2 separate regions of the Homo sapiens genome follow, and region 2 is linked to region 1. Evidence: promoter capture Hi-C in 16 types of primary human blood cells and fetal thymus (Javierre and others, 2016). All regions are on one chromosome and are shown on one strand. The core of a region is centred on a gene start or on the middle of the fragment in contact, and the rest is flanking DNA. Distances in the headings are between cores, read along the strand shown.

Region 1 (5,871 bases), core at 1,659-4,158:
GGGTCAGAATGCTGTTACAGGGATGTGGTAAGAACAGATCTGCATTCAGCAGGACACACTGGCGAGCAGATGGAGCCAGCCAGAATAATTCAGGAGCAGGTGATACCCACATGTCCAGTGAAGCAGGTAGAACTACCTAGAAGTAGGTTCTCAGCCACTAGGCCCAGATATAGGATTTCATGTCTCTTCAAGGGAAACCGACAGGAGAAACGTTGGTGCCAACTTAGAGAAAAGGCCTTGAAGGCATGTCAGAGCTCAGGTATCAGGACTGGGGTCAACTGACATGACCAGACTCTGAATGAGGCCCATGCTCTGTCCTCCAGGATGAAAGTCTCCCAGCTCAGCTGAGCTCTGATTCCAGAGTCATCTCTGTGGTTGACCTGCAGGTGGGGATCAAATGGTTGCACTGTGGACAGAAAAGGGCTGACAGGGGGAAGTGGGGGAAGGCCAAGTACATTATGAAAAACCAGCGAGGCCAGGCACAGTGGCTCACGCCTGTAATCCCAGCACTTTGGGAGGCTGAGGAGGGCGGATCACTTGAGGTCAGGAGTTTGAGAACAGCCTGACCAACATGGTGAAACCCCGTCTCTACTAAAAATACAAAATTAGCCAGGCGTGGTGGCACATACCTGTAATCCCAGCTACTTGGGAGGCTGAGGCAGGAGAATTGCTTGAACCCAGGAAGCAGAGGTTGCTGTGAGCTGAGATCATGCCATTGCACTCCAGCCCGGGCAACAAGAGTGAAACTCTGTCTCAAAAAAAAAAAAAGAAAAAGAAAAACCAGCGAAGGCCCAGCTTGAGCAGCCAATGGCACAAGAAAATGGCACAAGGAGGCCACTGTAACTGACAGACACGCCTGCTCTGCCACTGGGACTGATCTTGTGTGGGGAGTTCTGATCAGCACCAGGCACTCTTTAGAAGCACCGTGTCCGGCTTCTGTCCTCTTCTACTGTCACGTGGCAGAAAATTCCTCTCTCATGCTATCCTGGGTAAAGTCCTTTCTTCAAAAAGATCTCCCTTCCATAGTCCTCCCATTAGAATCTTTTGCACTCTGTACAAAAAGACAAACATTCTGATGAGTCCATCAACATTAGGCAGAGTTGTTGGAGACCCAGGAAGATGGGCTACAGAAGTCTTTATGCACACACCGGGTGGTACTCACTGTCTCTCAGCACCAAGCTCACTTCTTGGTACTTCACTCTGTGGTGCCAGGGCTGGGACCTGCGTATTTCTCTCATTCTGTTTCCAGCTGACCTGACCGTGGGCAGCACCAGAAAAAGCCTGAGACTACCTTCTGTCTCCAGTCCCTGTCAGCGACTCTCCAGCGACAGGCAACGGCGCCAGCTCCAGACTCCAGCTGCTCTGGGCCTCCCAGAATCAGCCACACCATGCTTGTCAGAAGTCTCAGCAAGAATTTTGGAGAATATCTAGAGACCAATAAAGATGGAAGCAGAGAGGGCCTAAGGAGGTGCACGGCCAGCAAGTGCCCTCATGTGATCAATGAATTTTAGAATATTGGTACCTAACCTTCAACTGAATTATAACTATAAATCATAATTATAAAAGTAATATAGGCTTGCCATAAAATATCCAAGCAGTTTAAAACGGCTTCCTGTCAACCATGTAAATAGCCAAAGAAACTATGCTGTATATATTATTCACTAGTTTTATTTTTTCACTTAACAATGCATCCTTCTAATGTCTAAGTAGTATTCCCTGTTAAGAATATAACAATTATACTCTAATATTCTCCAATTGATGGACTTTAGGTTGTTTTGATTTTTAAATTATGATAAAAAAGGATGTCCTGTGACTTATGTACTTGTTCATGAGCACGTAATTCTGTAGGAGAGATTCCTAGAAGAGAAATTGACCAGACCCTGACAAATTGCCCCAAGCAGTGTTCTGTGAACCCTCCCGCCTATGGACTAGGGATGATTCTCCACATCCTCACAGAGTAGATGTTCTCAATCTTTAAAAATGCTCTCCAGTATGATTGGCAAATCAGGCCACCTCTGTATTTCACATTCCTTGCTTAACAACAAGGCTGAACATTGTTAATATATTCATTAGCCAATTGTGTTCCTTTTCCTATGGATTGCTTTTTTGTATCTTTGCTTATCTTTTCTGTTGGGGTGCTCATTTCTCTTACCAATTTGTAGAAATTCTCAGCTACATCAGGGATCTGAAGCCCTTGCTATATGTGTCACACATGTTTTTGGCTTGTCTTTATCTCCATGGCACATCTAGGAAGATGTGAGCAGCCACTGTGGCCCCGGTTTTGGGATGGAGAGACAGCTCTTCCAAGAGAGGGCAGCCAAGGTAAAGAAACACAGATGAGCCACGGAAAGAGGGCATCTGTCTTCAGTTACCTCTGCAGGGTAAGCAGTGATGCATTGAGGAAAAAGTATATGATTTGGAGATTAAAGGGCTACAGTTCATCCCCTGCTAACTATGTGACCTTGGAAAAATGGTCTAACCTCTCCAAGGCTCAGTTTCTTCTATAAAAGAGAGGAAGTAATGGTTACTTCATATAGGATTGTTGTGTGGAATAAACGAGTAAATTCATGTAAAGGACTTGCTTTGGGGCCTGGCATCCAATCAGTGTTTGAGCAATGAACAGTTTACGGTGTGAACCCAATAAAATCACATGCACAGATGCCTTCTGATGATTTAAAGGGCTATGAACACATAAGTAAGTAGCTGTTACTTTTACACACAATTATCCATGTCAGGTAATGTACTAGAAGTCTGTGAAACATTCAGCCACTCTCTTAGTTCTGAGTTTGGAGACTGGAATGCTCTCTGAGAGCGTCAGGTGCCCTCCCACATTCACTGATTGGTAAAGGGGAAGATGGGGGCTGGGAAGGGGGAGGCTCACTCAGGAGTCCAGACAGTGGTGGGGACAACCTGAGTGCTCAGTCGTAAAGAGGAAAGGCAGAATTTTTCCTTGCTATGGCTGGAACAAACGCACTTTTGATGCTGGAAAACTTCATAGATGGAAAATTTTTACCTTGTAGCTCATATATAGATTCTTACGACCCATCAACAGGGGAAGTGTATTGCAGAGTGCCAAATAGTGGAAAAGACGAGGTGAGTATATGCACTTAAAGAAGACTGAAATGTGTTTAATATGTTGGCCAATTATGGGTAACAGTTTTCTAAAAGCAGAGGGAGTTGGGGGAAGATGTAGGATTGTTAAACATGATAGAAGGAAGATTCTAGTTCTCAGAAGATGTACCTTGTAACTGGACTGTATGATACCTAGAACAAATCTCTTCCTATATGCAGAAAGTAAGTCATTTTTCTAGCCAACCTAACACAGCCCTGTGTGCAGTTTTTTTTTGCAATTCTCAAACATTTCCTAATCAGTGTCTAGTACAAAGTATTATTTGTAAGAGCTATCACTTTGTTAAATATTCCCTTTTCTCCACCACGCACTGCTTAAATTTACCACTATATCCATGGAATTAAAAAAAAAGTATAGCTTTACTAAAATAAACAAACAAGCAAAAAACTGTGGGCTTTGTTTTAGATTGTCTTCTCATAATTTGTCATGTCTTCAAAATACCTAGTAAAATAAAATCAATCATTTGAATGATGAAACTCAAAATCAAATTCCCATATATTTTTGGAGTTAGATTTAACAGCGTCTTTTTTCTTATCCAAAGTGTTTAATGGCATATGCATTACATTTTTTTGGTGATGTAGAATTAATTTTACTTGGAGAATTTTGTAAAATATTTGAGATATATTTGATTAGCTATCAATTATTGCACTGAGAATGTAAATATATCTGAAGTGGTAAATGTAGCTGATGTATATATAGTCATCTAATGCCTTATGAATTATAATTTATTCTTTTTAAGGCACAAATAACTAGATTATTTAAAATATAGTCTTCCTATAAAAATATATATTCCATGCAAAGTTTTTTTTTAAGAACATTGCTATTTTTTTTCTTTTTTGTTAATACTTCAAATCTGTCTTGCATTTAAAGTAAACCTTCAGACTTAGGGATTAATGTTTGCAAATGTTGGTTAATGCATTGGTTAAATTATAAACTGCAATTTTGTTTGCTTCAAATGACTTAACACAGCTCTGGGAAATCCAGCTTTGTGTTTTCCACTCTTCCTTGTTTGCCAAAGTGAAGTTAAAAATGACAAACATGCCAAATTCAGCTGAAATATTTCCTGCAGCTAATGGCTCATAACTTTTTAGAAAATAGAATGAGCTATGGATGCGCTAGCTAGTAGAGTAATAGATATGTTCAGTTTCTCAGCAATCCAACTTCCAAATATCCTATCTGATCCCATAAGTCATAGTTTTTTCCGGCTTGAAAAATATGGTTACCATACAAACTGCATGTCCAATTTCCAAAACATCACTCAGGAAAATGTTGCTGGTGCTGCTAACAGTGGCTCCCGTTTATTCAACTTTTGCTTTGTGCTTTGCAGTCATTAAGCCCTTTTTTAACAAAAAATTAAAAAATTGATACATAATAATTGTACATCTTTATGGGCATATGTGACATTTTGATACATGCATACAATGTGTCATGATCAAATCAGGGTAATTAGGATCTCCATCACATTAAACATTTATCATTTCTTGGTGTTGGGAACATTCCAAATCTTTTCTTCTAACTATTGTGAAATATACAATAAATTATTGTTAACTATTGTCACTCTACTAGAACTTATTCCTTTTAACCATATTTTTGTATTAATTAGCCAACCTCTATCCTCTCCTCTACCCTTCCCAGCCTCTGGTAACCATAATTGTACTCTCTACCTCCATGAGATCAACTTTTTTAAGCTTCCACATATGAGTGAGAACATGTAATATTTGTATTTTTGTGCCTTGCTTACTTCACTTAACGTAATATCCTCCAGCTCAAATCGTGTTGGTGCAAATGACAGGATTTTGTTCCTTTTTATGGCTGAATAATATTCCATTGTGTATATATACCATATTTTCTTTATCCATTCAGCTGTTGATGGACATTAGGTTGAGTCCATATCTTGACTATTGTAAATAGTGCTTCAACAAATATGGGGGTACAGGTATCTCTTCAGTATACTGATTTCCTTTTCTTTGGATAAATTTCCAGTAGTGGGATTGCTGGATCATACTGTTGTTCTATTTTTATTTTTTTTTTTTTGAGAAACCTACATGCGTTTTCCATAATGGCTGCACTAATTTACTTTCCCACCAACACTGTATTTGTCTTCCCTTTTTTTTTGCAGCTTCACCAGCCTTTTTTATTTCTTATTTTTTGATAATGACCATTTTAACTGGGATGAGATAATAACTCGTTGTGGTTTTGACTTGCATTTCCCTAATAATTAGTGATGTTAAGCATTTTTTATATACCTGTTGGCCATTTGTACATCTTCTTTTTGTGGAATATCTCTTTAGATCATTTGCCCGTTTTTAAATTGGATTTTTTGGGCGGTGGCTATTGAGTTGTATATGTATATATACAAGCTCAAGCTCCTTATATATTCTGGTTATTAATCCCTTGTCAGATGGATAGTTTGCAAATATTTTCTCCCATTCTGTAGGTTGCCTCTTAACTCTGCTGTTTCTTCTGTTGTGCAGAAGCTTTTTAGCTTGATATTATTTTATTTTGTTTATTTATTTTCTTTTGTTGCCTGTGCTTTTGAGGTCTTGCCCAAAAAAATCTTTGCCCAAATCAGTGTCATGAAGTATTTACCCTATGTTTTCTTATAGTAGTTTCATAGTTTTGGGTCTTACATCTATCTAAGTCTTTAATCTGTTTTGATTTGTTTTGGTGAGAGATAGGGGTCTAGTTTCATTCTTCTGCATATGGTTATCCAGTTTTCCCAGCACCATTTATTGGAGAGA
Region 2 (5,871 bases), core at 2,072-4,571, 1.1 Mb before region 1:
CTTAGTGGTACCAAGAAGTAAATATAACTCAGTCACTATACATCTATCCACTTTCCATCCTCCCATTGTACCTCTGGCTGATTGACGTTTCCTTTTCCACTCTTTATTCTTGTGAGTTCATTCATTTTTTACTGTTATTCTATCAAAGGCTTTGGGGTAAGCAGGTATATTCAACCTACCACATTTATCTGCCGTATAAAAAATGGAGACAAAACATGTCATCCCTGCAAAGATGTAGAAGTCAAGTCACAGAAAATGAGATACATAATCAAGATCCTAGGTAAAGGAGTAATGTCGTTAGGGCTAGATTTTGCTTTCTGTGCCTTGACTAGCCGTACCTCCTCTTGAGGCATTGTTCTGTAAGGACTTGTTATGTAACCCAGGTCGTTCTTCTTAGCAGTGAGTACCCTTTTCAGGGATCACTCAAATAAGAGGGACTCCAAGAAGAAGGAAAGAATAAAAGGGAAGGGGAAACAAGGGAGAAGAGATGGCCATGAAACAGTATGCATTGAAGGCACTCTGAATTGCAATATGCAACCACACTTCACCCAGAACTAAGTTTTTAAATGATAAAGCAGTGCCAGGGCAAATTAGAGCACACAAACCCCCTACAGCTGAGGTAGACAATGGGACAGCTAGGATCCTTGGTATCAAGTGTGGGAGACTGAGGAGCATCATATTCCTGAGTGTGTTCCAGCGATTGTGCTATTTCTACAACATCTCATTCATTACGTACAAAGAGAAGTCATCAACAGCTCCAAGGAATACAGTTCAGCATGTTTTCCTTTTTGTGAGAATCTGCAGTGGGTTGGGGACGCTTTGCCTAGCACTTTGAAATCTTAGTACATTAGTAATAATTTATATAGTATTAGAGCTGTCAGAGAACATCAAGATAATTTTCAGATGCCCCTTTTTCCTTTAATGCTTTGAAATATTTGAGTCTACAATTGTCTGAAATATGCTCTTGCTATGTCAGAAGGAAAGCACCCAAGAGAAGACAGTAGGTAAAGCACCCAGAAAGACAGACTGAGACGGTGGCTTGAGAACACTTTATTCATTAACAAAAATCTTGATTAATTTTGTGAATTTGTTTCAGAAGTTTTTCCTTACTAGAGGAAACAATTGAATGATCTTGCATAGAGAAAAGAAATCCAGATTCCCTTAAATTATTTTTTGTACCATATGATGCAGAAATTTCACTTCTAGGTATATATTCAGAAGAAAAGAAATCAGTATATTGAAAAGCTCCCTGCACTCCCATGTGCACAGCAGCACTATTCACAACAGCCAAGATACGGAAGCAACTTAAGAGTTCACCAGCAGATGAATGGATAAAGAAAATGTGGGACACATACACAATGGAGTACTATTCAGCCATAAAAAAGAATGAGATCCAGTCATTTGCAACAATATGGATTCACTCGGAGGTCGTTAGATTAAATGAAGTAAGCTAGGCACAGAAAGATCAACTTTATATATTCTCACCTATTTGTCAGTGCTAAAAATGAAGCAATTGAGCTCATGGAGATAGGGAGTAGAATGATGGTTACCAAATGCTGGGAAGTGTAGTGGGAAGGAGGAATGGTTAATTGGTACAAAAATATAATTAGATAGAGTGAATAAGATCTAGTATTTGATAGCACAATAGGGTGACTTCAGTCAACAAAATTTATCACACATTTAAAAATAACTTAAAAAGTATAATTGGATTGCTTGTAACACAAAGAAAGAAATAAATGCTTGATGTGATAGATATCCCATTTACCTTGATGCGATTATGATGCATTGTATGCCTGTATCAAAATATCTCATGTACCCATAAATATATACCCTTACTATGTGCCCACAAAAATTAAAAATTAAAAAACCCTTAAACAACAAAAAAACCCCAAATCCCCCCCGCCTTTTTTTTTTTTTGAGACAAGGTCTCTCTGTCACCCAGGATAGAGTGCAGTGGTGCGATCTTGGCTCACTGCAACATCCACCTCCTGGGTTCAAATGATTCTTTTACCTCAGGTAATTCTTTTACCCAAGTAGCTGGGATTACAGGTGTGTGCCACCGTGCCCAGTTCATTTTTTTGTATTTTTAGTACAGACAGGGTTTCACCATGTTGGCCAGGCTGGCCAAATTCCTTTTTGTCATAGGAACGAGATAGGCATAAATTCTCCACGAAGGAATTATTTCTATTGGAAAGAATATGGGAACTAAATTTTTTTATTTGCTTCAGATATGGGACTTTTGGTGAAATTTCAGTTTTCTGCGCATTGTACTTTCACAACAAGTTTTTAGAAATCACGCTGAAATTCTCAACTGAGAGATACGTATCATGATCAACCTTTGCCACTTATACTCTGATACATGTGGTGGTGTATTTCCAGATTTTTACTATGTGTGGCTGTAAAAATGCTGTTATGGGCTAGAGTGTGTCCCCTGCCAAATTCGTATGTTAAAATCCTAACCCAAGCACCTCAGAATGTGACCTATATGGAGATGGGGTCTTTTAAAAGGCAGTTAAGTTAGATGAGGCCACTGGAGTAGGCCCTAATCCATTATGACTAGTGCACTTGTATGAAGAGAAAATTAGGACACAGGCCCAGAGGGAAGACCATAGAAGTGACATCTACAAGCCGAGGGGAGAGGCCTCAGAAGAAACCAACTCCACAGATGCCTTGATCCTGGACTTTCAGCCTGTAAGACTGTGAGAAAATCAGTTTCTGTTGTTTAAGCCATTGAGTTTATGGTGCTGTGTTATGACAGCCTTAGCTGATTAAGACATATGCCCGTAATTTTATGACTCAGTAAAGAAAATATTCACTTTTACTTAATTAACCCAATCATGTTCTTTACACACAAAGAAGGAGTCTTTCAGATCTGTTACCCCAGGACCTGTCACAATGCATGGCGTACGGAGGCACTCTGTGCACACGTTGAGTTTATGGACTGTCCCTGAATGTCATTCAGATGGAGGACTTTGCTTGTGGCCCTAGTTGTGTGATATGAACAGACTTCAGCATGGCCATCCCTGCCGACGCCACCATCTCAGATATTCCATCAATGCTCCTTAGCCCCGAGAGCAGGCCAAAAAGACAAAGAACATGGTCTCCAAGCGGCCCAGCCCCAAGCAACACAACTCCCTGGGGTTTCTCCAAAAAGAGAAGGGTGCGTTGAGTGGCTCTTAGCTGTTCCTACCAGGATATACAGGTGAGCCAAGAAAAACCACATGGCTAGCTTTATCAGGAGCTGCTGACAGGCCTGAAAGATCCAAAACGGACACCTGACCCATGTGACTGTTGTCAGAACACTATCCACCATGGCAACCAGGCCAGTTTCCATCGCACATGTGTCCCGCAGCTCCACCGAAAAGGATCAAGAAAGTCAGGATTCTAAATACCAACAGCATCACTCTGTCAAAACCACCCTTGCAACCTTTCTCAGAAAAGGAAATGTAATGACAAGATGAAAGTTAGCCAGAACGGCCATGTCCAGAAAAGCTCTCAGTAGTACAGCCATCTGTCCGAAATACTCTAACCTACAAGGTGGCCACGGTCTCTTCAGAGGGTCATGGAGCTCTGCAAAGCTTGTCTTAAAACTGATTAAGGTAAAATAGTTATTAGAAGACATCTTTTTCTTTCTTAAGATCAATAGAAAAATAAACAGGGCTGGGCAAGGTGGCTTACACCCAGAATCCCAGCACTTTAGTAGGCCAGGGCAGGAGGATCGCTTGAGCCCAGGAGTTCAAGAGCAGCCTGGGCAACACAGCAAGAACTCATCTCTACTTAAAAAACAAAATTAAAGTATCAGCTATGCCATGAGCTATCTAACCAGGTGCCCCTCTCCCACCATTTCCTCTCCCTGTACCCTGTTTAGGTCCTTCACAGAACTTAGGACAATTTCGATTTGTCTTTCTCTCTCCTCGCCTCCCCGCCTATTTATTTTCTGTTTTCCCCATTAAGGGCAGGAACTGTGTTTATTGTATTTGCCATTATATATTCAAGACAAATTATGATGCCTGCTACATAATAAATGCTCAATAAATATTTGTAGAATGACTGACTGAATGAAAAAAATGTTAAAGGGGACTGAGGGAAGAAGCTAAAATATATTTAGTTTTTGTGCTGTGTACCTTTTAAGGCACTGTTGTAGGGTCACCTCATTTAATTCTTAAAACATAATAGATGCTTAATAAATATTTTTAGAATGACTAACTGAAGGAAAAAAATGTTAATGGAAACCAAGGAAAAAAGCTAAAATACATTTACTTGTTACTGCACTGTGTACCTTGTTAGGCATTGTTATATGATCATGTCATTTAATCCTTAAAACATTAGAATGCTGCACTCATTTATTAATTTATTGAGTGGAATCTTGCTCAGTTGCCCAGGCTGGAGTGCAGTGGTGTGATCATAGCTCAGTGAAGCCTCGAACTTTTGGCCTCAAGCGATCCTCCCACCTTAGCCTCCCTAGTAGCTGGGACTACAGGCATGCACCACTACACTTGGCTAGAGTGATATAATTTTAACATAATTTTTCCAGTAAGAAAACTGACATCCAGAGAAGTTTATAATTTCTTGGTGTTTCTGTAATGGTGAAATGAACTATCTCTCTGTTGCCTTTCTAGCACTTTGAAAATAAAATTCTCAATACTTCAGAATTAAACTTATGTATACACACGTGTGTGTGTGTTTCCAGTTTACTTTTCCTCTTGTCCAACCTTTCTGATATGTTAGTGATTCTGAACTTTGTGCAATGCTGAGGTGAAGGCTGAGGTTGGCTACAGAGACGATGGCAGCTGAGCTACAAGGCAGTCTCTGTAATTTTGTTTTCACTGGTTATTTTCAATATATTTATTAGGTTGTTAAACTGAACCATCTTGACTGGCCCCAGCCAAGTTTCTTACAGTGGAAATGGCACATTAACTATGCAGCTGTCATGAGAGAAGTCAGTACTCTTAGGTGAGTGCCTGTAACTGAAATACAGATGGGCAAGTCAAGAGTGGGTCGAAGGTTCAACATGCTCTTTTCCAAACCTCTCTGGTTTGGAAATCTAACTCGAAACCTCCTGGAGTCAAGGCTTCTGATGAGATTCCTGGAGCTTCTTGGTCCAGGCGTGGGTTTGGAATACTTGGGAAAGGGCCGACCACAGGGATCTCAGGGCTCCTCATGCTGGCTCTGTTTGGAAGTGTTGAGCTGCATGAAAAGTAGGGCACTTGATGGGGTGGTGGAGATTTTTCAAAACCTCAACAGGAATTTCAATTGTTCATTTGGACAAGAGTTTGGGTTTGGTTCCTACGTAAGCCCAAGTAGTTTGTTTTATACTGACTTTAGATTTTTTTGATTCAAATCTTTGCTGTTATTATCACGTAAGAAAATCAATCTATTATGGTATTTTAGTTTGGTCATAATAAAAAAGTCAATATGTTGCAAATTATTAACAATACATTTAAAGAATGCCATTCTAAATGAGAGTGTGTTTTCTAGTATCTTAACGTATTAAAAAATTTTCAATGTTTTTTAAATTAAATGAATTAAATCATGAAAGAAGGACTAAAATGCTATTCTATCTGGATCAATGCCATTAACTAACCTTTTAAAATAAAAAAAGCAGATTAGAGAACACTTAATATTTTTTCAACAATATTGTTATTCATGAGACTTGATTATGCTAATATTATTTGAGAATGACATATTATAGTCATATAAAATGTGAAAAATATAGGCCTGAAAGCAAATTGGATGGGTATTTATAAAGATTAATAAATATTCTAACTGGATATCATTGTGAAATTATAAATAATTTGCCTTAATATCATTGACAGATTCTAACCCAAAAGAATTCAAATATATTGGATTTCCTCTCCTGTTCAATTGGAA

What was found. The method cuts DNA at HindIII sites, captures the fragments that hold promoters and counts their contacts. A CHiCAGO score of 5 or more calls a contact.
Region 2: a contact is called between the fragment with the promoter of PDE7B-AS1 here and the fragment with the promoter of ALDH8A1 in region 1, in 2 of 17 cell types (naive CD8 T cells and total CD4 T cells). The highest score is 6.3, in naive CD8 T cells.

What each region holds. Positions count from the first base shown.
Region 1 is chr6:134,947,138-134,953,008 of GRCh38, reverse strand. It overlaps ALDH8A1 (aldehyde dehydrogenase 8 family member A1), which reads left to right and starts at 2,908. Exons shown (of 7, transcript NM_022568.4): 1 at 2,908-3,093. The coding sequence starts at 2,956. The HindIII fragment of the contact is 9,755 bases long and covers 1-4,820 here.
Region 2 is chr6:136,070,277-136,076,147 of GRCh38, reverse strand. It overlaps PDE7B-AS1 (PDE7B antisense RNA 1), which reads left to right and starts at 3,321. Exons shown (of 4, transcript NR_149042.1): 1 at 3,321-3,599; 2 at 4,853-4,953; 3 at 5,817-5,871. All of the region lies in intron 2 of PDE7B (phosphodiesterase 7B), which reads right to left. The HindIII fragment of the contact is 8,353 bases long and covers 1-3,580 here.